Regions from separate parts of the Homo sapiens genome. Here regions 2, 3 and 4 are each linked to region 1. Evidence: promoter capture Hi-C in 16 types of primary human blood cells and fetal thymus (Javierre and others, 2016). All regions are on one chromosome and are shown on one strand. The core of a region is centred on a gene start or on the middle of the fragment in contact, and the rest is flanking DNA. Distances in the headings are between cores, read along the strand shown.

Region 1 (3,017 bases), core at 390-2,889:
CTGTGACAATCTAATATTCTAATAACCTGCTTAAGAAATGAACCTGTCTGCCCACTCCAACCCTTCCTAGCTAATATCTAACCATCTTTAAGGTTGCCAAAACGTAACAGAACTAATGAAGCATTAAAATATAACTCCACATCAAGCCTTGACCAATAAGCTCTGTGAATATCCCTCCTGATTACTAAAACTTGAGCCTCATCACACCAAAATGACAATCTTATGTTGCATTCAAAACCCGGAACTGCTTTATCCATTGGTACTTCGCACTGGCTGACAAAGAGGAAAAGAAGAGAAAAAAGAAAAAAAACCTAAAATCATGAAGCCCCCAAATAAAGAGCAGACTCACACTCGGACACCAACAGCGCTGCAGCTCAAGGGATTAACGGTGGAAGTGAGACCTTTCCGATATTAATAGCGCCCCGGGAAACAGAAGAATTCCCCCAAACCCAGTTGACACACATTCTGCATTCAACACGTAACAGCCATTCTGCATATATCCTTGCATTTCAGGCTCCAATTCTGGTTATCAAAGTGTATTTCTGTACAGGAGTGCCTGGCCAGAGGTTTTCTGTTCTCTTTGTCTTGTGATCTGAGGGGCAGTTTCTGAGCTTAGGTTAGAGCTGTGGTTTCCAGAGAATTGCCCACGATATTTTAGCTCCGGGTTGCAGGCTCCCTGGCTCTCCCCAGCCGGCTCCATATTGCTGGGCAGGTCCCTCCCGCCTCGCCCCACGTTCCAAAAGCTGGATTTCCGGGCGGTTCCAAGACCCCACTAAATATGCCTCCAACAACCTGCCCAAGCTTGGCTGGCAATAAACGCTGAGTTAGGGCCCCAGCGACCAACCGCCCCGAGGCGCACTTCCCCCACCCCGGAAGAGGAGGGCGGCAAACTTCGGAAGGCGGGGGTTAGGGGACGAGCTCCGGGGACCACCGCCGCCTCGCCCGCCCCGGGAAGGGCCCGGGCAGCGACCCTGGCTGCAGCTGGAGGGCCACGGGGGAAGGGAGCGCTCCTTCCCGCAACACGAAGGCAGCGGCCAGGGCGCTCTCCTCCGGTGAGGGGCCCCGGAAAACTGCAGCAAGGCGACAGCGGGGACCCTCCGAAGTGTGCGGTGACGGAGGGTGGGAGGAAGCCCGAGCTCGTCGGCAACTCCGGGGGCAAATGCGACCGGCGGCGTGCAGGACCAGCTCGCAGGAGGACGGGGGAAACGGGAGTCAGGATGGCGGGGATCTCACAGGACGCCGGCCGCGCGCGGGGGTAGTGCTGCCCGGCGGCCAGGAGATGCCGGAGGCGGGGAGGGCCGGTGGCCAGCCCGCTTCCCCCCGGCGGGGCTCTGCAGAAGGAGAAGCCGCTGCCAGTGACAGGAAGAGAGTCGCGGCAGCCGTGCACACATGCACCGCCTCCCCCGCCCGAGCACACACACCCGGGGCTGCTGCTGCCTACCTACCCCGCCCGCCGGCTTCCTTCCTCTGCGGGGCCCGCGCTGCAGCGGTGGCCTCCTGCCCGCTCGGTTCCGACCGGCCTCCAGCCCGGCTGCGACCCGCCGGCCGTGCCCGATCCGTGCTTGCCGTCTCCGACAGCTAGCCTGCCGCCCTCGCCGCTGCCGCTGCTTCCTCCAACTCCGCTCCAGCTGCTGGCGACTCCTCTCCGTGCGCCCGCAGCTCCAGCGCCCGGCGCTAGCCCCGCCTCCGGCCCGGCCCCGCGCGCCCCGCCCCCGAGCCCACACCAACCAGAGCCCGCGGCTCCGCCCCTTTCCGTCCGCACGGCTCGGGCCTCCGAGCCGGCGGCTGGCAGTGGGGGAGCGAGCTCAGGCCTGGCGGACCCTTCCTGCCACCGCCCTCGCCTTCCGCCCCCCAGCCGCGGGGATGCCCCGGGCGGCCGTGCCGCGCGCTGCCTCCGCTGCGGAGTGCTCTGGCTCTACACGTCCCGGGCCCGCCCGGCTGCTGGGCGTCTCCCAGCGCAGAGGCGGAGGGGTTCGGGGAGGTCGAAGACAAGTTCAGACCTCCCTGGAGGCTGGCTGCGTCTCTAATCCGAGTGTCTTTCAGCCAACCCCAGGCTTTTTCGAGCCCCTAGCGCCCCAGCAGAGTGGCTGGGGTGGGGAGGACTCGGATTCCAGAGCTCGCCAAAGCGGAGAGGCCCTGCAATTCCTGGTCTCGCCAGCACTGCCTTCCGAGTGGGCGGAAAACCCGCGGCACCCGCCTGGCGCTCCGGGGGTGAAGGAGGGGTGAAAGGGTGAACCGGAGGGACGGGCGCCCGCAGCCTGCCGCTGGCTAACTCCGGCAGCCTGGCACCGCCGCCTCCGGGAGCCAGGCGGACCCGCGAGAAGGGAAGAGAGTTTTCTGAGGGCGTACGCTGGCTGATGGCTTCTAGTCCTGAGATGACAGAGCAAATGGAGGTCACTCAGGCAGACCACGGGCCCCTCGGCGTTCGCGGAGTCGGGGGCGGGGTTGGCGGGGGGTGGGGTTGGCGCGGGCGGGGGGGGCGGGGAAGCGCAGGTGAATTACATTGTCTCTTAAAGGTGTTAGTTTTGAAATGCATATTCTTCAAGTAATAATTACCTAAGTTGCTCCAGAAAAATTTGATGTTGGTTCAAACCTTCCACTGATGGTAAGATGGAATGCCAGCACCACGTGTGCCACTCTTTCATATTAAAACATGTGAGAATCTGCTTCCTAAAAGCTCTTTCCAGATTCTCCTTTCTGCAGCTTAAAGCCCTGCACCCGCCCACCCTGTTTGCCTAAAGCCCTTTTATAGTTCCCTCCCAGTTTCCTTGCAAGAAAACTCTTAAAAACAAACACACAAAACCTAAGCACTTGGCCTCTGTAAAACGTTGAATTTGGTGGTTTATTCTTGTGGACGTTGGAAGTAGAGGGAAGAACGTCCTAAAATTCATCGCTTATCCTTAAAAAATATCATTTTTAAAGGTGACTCACCTAACAGAAAAGTAAGCTCCACTTTAGGCTATTCAGACACTGGTGTTTCTATTATTCCAAGATGTCTCTTGCAGAGGCGACACAAA
Region 2 (3,447 bases), core at 247-2,746, 1.1 Mb after region 1:
GAAGCTCCCCAGTGTCCATGGAAAGGAAATTTCTGAAGCAGAGGCTGGTAAAGTTTTACGGCTTCTCCTATGCATTGGGGATTTAAACTAATGCTATACTTAAAAAGCAACTTGGTTGAAAAGAAAGTTTCTTAGATCACAGAAGTTAAGCCTGGCTAATTGGAACAGGTAATGGGACTGGGCCAAGTATCGTCTCCACCTGTAATGCTAGTGGGTGAAGAATGACCTCGGTCTACTTAAAAAGTTGTTTTTAGAAAGACTGATGCTGTCTAAAAGCTTTCCTCATGGCAGGAAAGCTTTGAGGTGAAGCTGAAGGAGGACACTGTCAGGGATTCATATAGCCAGTGGGGAGCTGAACTGGATAACCATCACATTTTATAATTCCATGGATCGAGGATGCTGAGTGACTTTGGACAAGTTTGCCTATGCATGGAAGATAGTGCTCCCATAGCAGGTTCACTTTGAAGTTGTGAAGGTAAACAAGACCAAATATGTGAATCTATGAAACATGGAAAATGCTTACTATATTCATAATCCAAAAGACAAACACTATACAGGTAGTCATGCAGTTCTAAACATACACCTACACCCCTGTCAGGACTTCTCCACCTTTCTCTAAGACTGCCATGACATTCCGTAAAGTCCTTTGCAAGTATAAAACACTGTGTAAACAGCATTCGAGAGTACCATAATACAGCCAACTTCCCTGCTGTTAAACCAATGAAGGCACACAGGAGCCCAGCACTGACACTAGTCACTTAATACTCTGATTTCAAGAGTCACTGGTTAAATTTGGAAGGAAGCTGCATGATTACACAGTTCACTGGGAAGATAATTAAATCCCTTGTATCCTCTTGGTTTCATGACATTGCTTACTCCTCTTGAGTGCTTCCTTTATGAACACAGGCAGGATGTTCTTTGGATTTGTGACAGAGTACACCGTGGCTTCAAAGGGTGCCAATGGCTCTCCACTCCACTGTTTAAGCAGTTTCAGTGACACACATCGACTGCATCCAGAAATGAAGGCTTTGGGTTGTGCAAGGTGCTCCGTAGCCAGATGAGGGCAAGACAATAGAAATGGGATCATCTGAGTCTGCTAAGAGACCTTGCCAGAGTCCTCTAGGGGAAATACACATTCAAATTTCATAGAAGCAGGAAGAGAAGTTTTAAAATACAGAATTCTATTAAAATACTTTACAAAATAAATCACGAAAGTGATCAATTATGTCTCAGCAAAATAAGCAAATGTATACTTCTCAATATATACATTTCAGTGTATTATTTCTTATTCTAATGTTGTGAACAGACATATGATACTATCTAGAGATATGCTGTCGCAGGAGCTGTTCTGCATAAAATACAACGCTGCTATAAAGAATGAAAAAGACAAATCAAATAACTGAACAGAACTATCTGAGAGCTATCTGAGAGGATCAGTGTGTGTCCTTTCTCTCTCTCCATTTACAGTCATGCTTCCTGTGACCTTCTTACTCCATAGGCTATATTCTGCTTACATTTTAAGTAGAAATTGATCCCTGTTTAAGTTAATTTGTATGGTGGGGAGGGAGGCCTAATAATTGCTAGAACTTCTTCTTTCAGTACCACTTATTTTTTATAATTTATAGTACATGTGTATATATTTACAATTTTATCTTTCAAAGGAACTCTAATTCTCAGACTAAACCTTCAGATCAAACCTCACAGTTTAATACAATTTTGTCTTCTAGTATACTAGAATGAAACCTGTTAGAAGTTCCTGAAGGAAGTCACCTTCAGGATAGGTGACTCTCCAAATAGATGTCACTGTGTAAGGTATATAAACAAAGAGAATTCTTACTACTTACAATTTAGAATGAGAAGCAAAATTAAATTAGGGAATGAGTATGCAGATATAAGGACATTATTTCATGACATAAAACCAGAGAATTCATAATATCTTTGTCTTTAAACTTGAGACTAATGAATACTTTCTCAGTAATCAGACATGGGTGTGACACAGGGAAATCAATCTCCTGGTACTAGCCCCTTTGGGCTGCCTGTCTCATCAGCATGGCCCTGACATAAAACATACAATACCTTCAGTAGGAGTTCTATAACTTCTGTGTGGACAAGTCCATGCACTGGTTCTCCATTGATGTGAGTGATAAGATCTCCAGCCTTCAGTCCTGCCTGGCATGCCGGACTTCCTTCTTCTACATTCTAAAGTCCAAGAGGAGAGGATATTTGTAGGCAAACAAATGACTACTCTAACACCTACTGTGTCTTCTGGGAGAATAATGAGTTAATTAGCAAATGTCCTAAGCCTCTAATAGAAAATCTAACAGGTACGTTTACTATTCCTATTCTATCATTATTCTAAAATAGGAAACTTTCTATGGTACTTAGAAATTTTCAGGTGATTCAGACTGAAAGTACCAGAGCCACAAAGAAAAAAAAATGAATGACCAAAACATTTCAGGTGATTTGAGAAGGTCATTTTTAAAAAGAAGGCTAGGAAAAAATGATAAAATAAAAGAAGGATGGAAATAGGATTGCCTTTGACTATGTCTACCAGCTTGGTATGTAAGAAAGAACAATCGAATATGAAAACTGGACAGAATTATGAGATATTCGTTTTTGCTAAATTCAATTCCACCATACACATACAGGGATGGAGCTCTAAAAGGAAAATGAAACAGGTCGCAAATGCAAGCTTAAAAGTAAATATATTTGCTATTTATCAGCCAACCTATCCACTCTCCAGCTTGGCTGGAAATGAAAAATCCCAAGTGCGAGACATGCAGGTCTTACCCAGACGATATGGTGCACTGTATAGATGTCACTGTCTCCCACATACACCCGGATGGCTCGGATGGTAAAGCCGTAGTTCTTCCCCGAACTGTGGATCACAATCGGCTGATGTGGACTGGCAGAAGCTGCTGAGGAATCTCGGCTGGGAGAGGAATCTCGTGAAGAAGAAGGGTCCGAGGACAGGGAATGGGGAGACATTGGACTTCCCAGAGGGGAAACAGCAAACATATCTGTAACAAAGAAGCCAGTCATCAAAGCCCATGTGGCTCACACAAGCATCCATGCAGGCAACCCTCACCCCATGAGCCTTGCCAGGACTGGGGGCATAGTCACAACACAAATCCATTTGTTTCCAATAGCAAAATGAAGATGAAATAATACAAAAATGTTTCTATCAGTAACTAGCATGAATTCCAAAACTGTCAAACTTCAAGAGTGTTGCTATTTTAACTAATTTTTCAGTTAGGAAAGAGAAAGAAATTTCAATACTCTCATGTTATAATTTTTTAGTTTCTATGCTTATTAAAAGACACCACAAGGATTAGCCTCTGGCTGTGACATTTTTACTTAATGTTTTATTTTAAGTAAAGAAATAAATCATAGATGCATATATTTCAAGTATGTCTTCATGTGGAGAAGACTGTATGTATTATATTA
Region 3 (3,147 bases), core at 287-2,786, 1.0 Mb after region 1:
TAGGCCCAATCTTCAGAGATTCTAACTCCCTGGTGTGGCCAGGCAGGGCATTCATGTGGTCAACAGGCAGGCAGCATCTGAGTCATTTGAGAAGAGCTTGTTAGAATTTTCTGCGCTATCATAGGCCTTCTGAACCAGAATTAGCAAGATCCCACATGAATCATGTGCATGTTAGAGCTGAGATGTGCTGCCTCACCTGAAGTCTTCAAGCCAACCCCTTTTCTTCTTGTAAATGCTTGGCAGTTCAGTGCTCAACAGCCAAGGGAAGCTGCCATTGCCCCCTGTGGGAGGGTTAGTACTATTTTTAGAAGTGATTTCTCCCTACTTTAATTCCTATCTCTAGTTCATGAATTCTCTGGTCCTCTTGATAGTCTTGCCCCATGTCCCCACATCATGCCACCTCCAAAAGGCAGAACTTGTAATTTTTTTTTTATTATTAAAGTTTTAGGGTACATGTGCACAATGTGCAGGTTAGTTACATATGTATACATGTGCCATGCTGGTGCGCTGCACCCACTAACTCGTCATCTAGCATTAGGTATATCTCCCAATGCTATCCCTCCCCCCTCCCCCTACCCCACAACAGGCCCCAGAGTGTGATGTTCCCCTTCCTGTGTCCATGTGTTCTCATTGTTCAATTCCCACCTATCAGTGAGAATATGTGGTGTTTGGTTTTTTGTTCTTGCGATAGTTTACTGAGAATGATGATTTCCAATTTCATCCATGTCCCTACAAAGGACATGAACTCATCCTTTTTTATGGCTGCATAGTATTCCATGGTGTATATATGCCACATTTTCTTAATCCAGTCTATCATTGTTGGGCATTTGGGTTGGTTCCAAGTCTTTGCTATTGTGAATAATGCCACAATAAACATACGTGTGCATGTGTCTTTATAGCAGCATGATTTATAGTCCTTTGGGTATATACCCAGTAATGGGATGGCTGGGTCAAATGGTATTTCTAGTTCTAGATCCCTGAGGAATCGCCACACTGACTTCCACAATGGTTGAACTAGTTTACAGTCCCACCAACAGTGTAAAAGTGTTCCTATTTCTCCACATCCTCTCCAGCACCTGTTGTTTCCTGACTTTTTAATGATTGCCATTCTAACGGGTGTGAGATGGTATCTCATTGTGGTTTTGATTTGCATTTCTCTGATGGCCAGTGATGGTGAGCATTTTTTCATGTGTCTTTTGGCTGCATAAATGTCTTCTTTTGAGATGTGTCTGTTCATGTCCTTCGCCCACTTTTTGATGGGGTTGTTTGTTTTGGCATTACCATTCAGGACACAGGCATGGGCAAGGACTTCATGTCTAAAACACCAAAAGCAATGGCAACAAAAGCCAAAATTGACAAATGGGATCTAATTAAACTAAAGAGTTTCTGCACAGCAAAAGAAACTACCGTCAGTGAACAGGCAACCTACAAAATGGGAGAAAATTTTCGCAACCTACTCATCTGACAAAGGGCTAATATACAGAATCTACAATGAACTGAAACAAATTTACGAGAACTTGTAATTTTTGTAGGCTGCATCACATTGTGCTTACATTGTTATAAAGAAGGAAAAATAATGCCTTGAAGAGCTGGGCACCCTTGTAGTCCCAGGTACTCGAGAGGCTGAGCAGAGAGGATCCCTTGAGCCCAGGGGTTTGAGGCCAGCATGGGCAACCCATGTCTCTTTAAAAAAATGCCTTGGGCTTAAAAGAGGTAGCCCTCAGTTTATTAGGGAAATATTATACACCCAAACACATATTTAGCTACATTTCAATTTTTTAAAATCCCAAATAAGATAACACTACGTGGATGCTGAAAATACAGTACAAGAAATTGTGCCCCAGACTGGACAGACCCACAAGAGCATGTCTAATTGTTTGCCCTTTAATGACCTCATTAGTTTTACCTGGTCGAGCTCAAGGTAAATACCTTTAAAACTTCAATCTCTTGCTTTTCATTTAAAGTTTCTTTTATGTATTCGCTCTAAACTGGTTGTTCACTTAATAGCTCTTGCTATGGCCATTATTGGCTCTGTGATGTGTGTACTTAATATCCTTTGTGGGTTTTTTCTTTTATGGTGAAGACCGACTTTTCTGCATAGCATGATACCAAGTCCCATTAAAATGACCATTTCCATACTTACTTTTAAAAACTGTGAATCTTAGCAGAGTGGGTTCCTCTAAGCAGGGAAAACTACATCACGCAGGCAGTGAAAAACACTGTCATGATTCTGTCCCATTTCATCTTGCAATTTATATTGTAGTAGAATAGTGTGTGGGAGGAAGAAGGTCTCGTCTAATGGTAGAGGTTAAATGTATGGGCTGTCCAGTCAGATCGCTTGAGTTCAAGCCTCAGTCCTGCCAATCACGAGGGTTAGTCACTTAACCTCTTTCCAAGTTTTGGCTTCCTAATTTATAAAATGAAGCAACGTATAGTTCAAATGGCACGGAGATTAAATAAGAAGATGGAAATAAAGTATTTAGTGTGTTACTTGGCTTCTAGTAAATGTGCTACAAACAGTAGCGACTACTAATACTTCCTTTCTTGTTCAATTCGGTCCAGCAAATGTATTAGTCCGTTCTCACACTGCTATAAAGAACTGCTCAAGACTGGGTAATGTATAAAGGAAAGAGGTTTAATTGACTCGTAGTTCAGCATGGCTGGGGAGGCCTCAGGAAATTGACAATCATGGCAGAAGGCAAAGGGGAAGCAAGCCACCTTCTTCACACAGCGGCAGAAAGAAGTGCTGAGCGAAGGGTGGGGAAGAGCCCCTTATAAAACCATCAGTTCTCATGAGAACAGCATGAGGGAAACTGCCCCCATGATTCAGTTACTCCACCTCGTCTCTCCCTTGACACGTGGGAATTATGGGGGTTACAATTTAAGAGGAAATTTGGGTGGAGACACAAAGCCTAACCATATCAGCAAATACTTATTGATGTCTCCGATGTGCTTTGTCCTAGAAGTAAAAAACAAGACAGAGAACCAGGGAGCTTGAAGTCTAGCAAAGAAGATACACATGTAGAAAGGTAACTCCAAAATAACGCAGTGAGTGCCATGAGGCAGATACACAGTGAAGCAAAGACAGTCCACAGGTCGGTCCAGGCCTTTCCAAAAGGCTTCCTCCAGATGTCTGAGTCCAGCACA
Region 4 (3,296 bases), core at 1-2,500, 1.2 Mb before region 1:
TGTTCAGCCCTCCGCCCCAAATCGTTCACGATTAGAGACTGTGACGTTTCAAAAGGTATACAGGTGGAAAAAAAACACCTATTTGAGTAAATATAGTTTGTAGCTCGAAATAAAAGATGCAGACCAGGGGCCGGACGCGGTGGCTCATGCCTGTAATCCCAGCACCGTGGGAGGACGAGGCGGGCGGATCATCTGAGGTCAGGAGTTTGAGACCAGCCTGGCCAAAACATGGTGAAACCCCGTCTCTATTAAAAATGCAAAAATTAGCCGGGCGTGGTGGTGGGCGCCTGTAATCCCAGCTACTCTGGAGGCTAAGGCAGGAGAATCACTTGAACCCAGGAGGCGGAGGTTGCACTCCAGCCTGGGCGACAAGAGTGAGACTCCGTCTCAAAACAAAACAAAAACAAACAAACAAACAAAAAAAGGTGCAGACTGTTGTCACGGTCAGGTCTCTATTCACTCTTGAAAACAAGATTGACAATTACCTCCTTTAAAAAGCAGATAACTGTCCCTGAAGATGCGAGGTTACTGAAATGAGATGTCAGAGGTAGACCTTCAAGACTATTCCTAGCCGACCCACCACCACCCCACACAGTGAACAGGGAATACTAAGCTCAAATATTCGTCCAACGTAATCCTGTAATCAGTGGGGTGCCGGGTTGAGCTCGCAAATCCCCGCTGCAGGACAGGGCTCTGCACCCTCAATCTTCTCATCCCCAGATGGGATGGGCGGGTCGGGAGGAGGAGCGACGAGAGCCCAGGAAAGCTTGAAGGCAGAGATAGACTCACGTCTCTAAGACATATACATAATATAGCCGCAACCGCGGCGGCCTTACTTTCCCGGAGCTGCATCCCCTTTTAGGCGAAGAGCGGAGGCGACCAGGGACTACCCTAGGTGAAAGGGCAGCCACCTGGCCCTACCCGGGCTCAACGCCGAGCCTCTCGGAGGTACGGCCTCCCGGGGACCTTCCAGACTGGTCGGCGCAAGCGAAGGGCGGGGACCACCGAAGGAGTGTGTGACTTAGGCATCCAGCGCACTGCCTGACCCGAAGTACCGACCCGAGTTATGCCCACCCTCCAACTTTGCGACGGAAATGTGTCATCGAAAGCCAGGTAACCAGTGGGCCGCGGCTGGGCCGCCGGGGCAGGCTAGGGGCGCCGCGGTGGGCTTCGGGGCCTTTGGGGCCGTGGGCTTTTGCTGCCGCCCGCCCCTTCCGGCTCCTCCCTGTAGAGCAAAGGGCACGTGAGCGAGGCGCCCGAAGCCGTCGCGGCGGGGACCATGTTGCTTCCGAACATCCTGCTCACCGGTCAGGGCGCGCGGCCGGGAGGGACTGGGCTGGGGCAGGCTGGGGGCGCAGAGTGCTCTGGGCATCGGGCGCCCAGGTGGGGGCCCCTCACTGCCCTCTTCAGAGGCCGGCCGAGGGCCACGAGGCGGTTGTCAGCGCCCCGGGAGCCGACCCTCGCGGGCGTTGCGGGAGGCGAGGGAGGGGACGCGGAACGTTAATTCCGTTGGCCTGAGGCTCCGGGGGGGGGCGGGGGGGGGTGGAGAGAGGTCGGCAGATCCAGCTCTCCAGCTTGGCAACCTGCTTAGTCTTTCTGAATCTGGTATTTCGTTTGTAAAATGGGTTGTTGATTCTTTGGCAGGGTTGGCCTTGGGATTTTTAGCGAAATAACGTAAGGCCATATCTGCTTCCCGGTAGAGTCATTAATGGTGGATGCCTCACTCCTTAGGCCTCCGTGGGCCGTATTTTATTTTTTCTTTGCTTCTGATAAACGCCTCAGATTAGATTTCGGTAAACGAGTTCAGATGTTTGTGACGTGACGAAATTGCTGTATGCTTTTGTTGAGTTACATCAAAGGATCCCCCCGCCCCTTAAAAGGAAGGCATATAGAGCATTTCGGGTCGTTTCTCGCGTAGGAGTGGGTCTTTGAAGCCATACTCAGGGTGCATGTTATCAGTGAAGGGAATTAAAATGCTGCATAACGACTTTAACGAATATTTTTGCTAGCCGTTTAGTCCTGAAAGTGTTTATCAAATTGTAGGCCATTCGTGGAAAAATCTAATGCATGTAGATTTTATTGCAAGGTACAGAAAAATTAAGACTCTTTGTGGGAACAGTAAAGTTACATCATTCACCCAAAGGTAAAATTGTTGGCAGCGCACAAGACATGTCTGTTTCTGAGAGGTGCAGATTAACCACCCCACAAATAACGTTTAGAATTTTAGATTCCTTAAGCGGAAGATTTTACATCTTTTTGCATGGATCAAACATAGTGCCCTGGTTATTAAGTCATTGTCAAAACTTTAAAGTGAACATTTTATTGAAAACATGTTGAGTCCAGGGTTCAGACTTGGTGTATTATAGTGGACTTGAGGTGACCGTTATTCTCCTGGGTATGGGAACTGGATTATCCCTGTTATCTTTATGCTTAAGTTTAATTTCAGGGATGTTAAATCTGAATAGCTGAAAATTATGAATTTGATGATCTTGAAATGTAATTTTAATAGGTATCAGAAGGGGAAGGTAAAGAACAATGTATATAGTATTGTCATTTATGTAAAAGGGAATATGTGTTGTATTTATATAACAAAGAGTATGTACATATATGTACATTTACATGCAAACATAAATAGGGTTTCTTTGGGAAAGGAAACTGGTTTACAGTGGTTATCTCTAGGGAAGGGCGCAAGGGGTCAGTAGAGGTAATTTTCAGACTGCTTAATTTTAACATGAACAGTTTTGTTTTTGTTCTTGTTTTTGTTTTTGTTTGAGACAGAGTCTCATTATGTTGGCCAGGCTGGTCTCGAACTCCTGCGCTTAAGCGATCCTCCCGCCTTCTCCTCCCAAATTGCTGGGATTACACGCGCGAGCCACCACACGTGGCCATGAACAGTTTTTAAATCTTTATAAGTTAAAGCAAATAGGCCAGGTGGGTGGCTCATGCCTGTAAATCCCAGCACTTTGGGAGGTGGAGGTGGGGAGATCGCTTGAGCTCAGGAGTTTGAGCTTAGCCTAAGCAACATAGCCAAACCCCGTCTCTACAAAAATTAACCAGGGCATGGTGGTGCATACCTGTGGTCCTAGCTACCGGACAGGCTGAGATGGGAGGATTGCTTGAGCCCAGGAGGTAAAGGCTCTAGTGAGCCAAGTTCCACTGCACTCCAGCCTAGGTAACAAAGAGATATCTTGTCTTTAAAAAAAGAAAAAGGTAAATAAATTATTGTAATTGATTCGAGGTGGCTAATTTTTTTTTTTTTTTTTTTGAGATGGAGTCTCTGTCGCCAGGCTGGAGTG

The links. Contacts are between HindIII fragments. The CHiCAGO score rates a contact against its expected background, and 5 or more counts as called.
Region 2: a contact is called between a fragment that was not itself captured here and the fragment with the promoter of PIK3R1 in region 1, in 1 of 17 cell types (naive B cells). The highest score is 5.3, in naive B cells.
Region 3: a fragment that was not itself captured here is called in contact with the fragment with the promoter of PIK3R1 in region 1 in 6 of 17 cell types (naive B cells, monocytes, non-activated CD4 T cells and 3 more); the score reaches 7.5 in naive B cells.
Region 4: the fragment with the promoter of TAF9 here is called in contact with the fragment with the promoter of PIK3R1 in region 1 in 1 of 17 cell types (fetal thymus); the score reaches 5.6 in fetal thymus.

What each region holds. Positions count from the first base shown.
Region 1 is chr5:68,214,378-68,217,394 of GRCh38, reverse strand. PIK3R1 (phosphoinositide-3-kinase regulatory subunit 1) reads right to left here and starts at 1,639. Exons shown (of 16, transcript NM_181523.3): 1 at 1,446-1,639. RefSeq lists silencers at 923-2,022, 2,243-2,462. The HindIII fragment of the contact is 2,835 bases long and covers 804-3,017 here.
Region 2 is chr5:67,152,210-67,155,656 of GRCh38, reverse strand. It overlaps MAST4 (microtubule associated serine/threonine kinase family member 4), which reads right to left. Exons shown (of 29, transcript NM_001164664.2): 25 at 2,791-3,020; 26 at 2,077-2,199. Among named protein-coding and RNA genes, the nearest start is that of CD180, 43 kb to the left of the region's middle. The HindIII fragment of the contact is 2,396 bases long and covers 299-2,694 here.
Region 3 is chr5:67,171,151-67,174,297 of GRCh38, reverse strand. No RefSeq gene overlaps it. Among named protein-coding and RNA genes, the nearest start is that of CD180, 24 kb to the left of the region's middle. The HindIII fragment of the contact is 3,845 bases long and covers 1-3,147 here.
Region 4 is chr5:69,367,474-69,370,769 of GRCh38, reverse strand. It overlaps TAF9 (TATA-box binding protein associated factor 9), which reads left to right and starts at 1,250. Exons shown (of 3, transcript NM_003187.5): 1 at 1,250-1,307. It overlaps AK6 (adenylate kinase 6), which reads left to right and starts at 1,250. Exons shown (of 5, transcript NM_016283.5): 1 at 1,250-1,307. The coding sequence starts at 1,280. RAD17 (RAD17 checkpoint clamp loader component) reads right to left here and starts at 952. Exons shown (of 19, transcript NM_133338.3): 1 at 837-952. RefSeq lists an enhancer at 149-698. The HindIII fragment of the contact is 4,867 bases long and covers 769-3,296 here.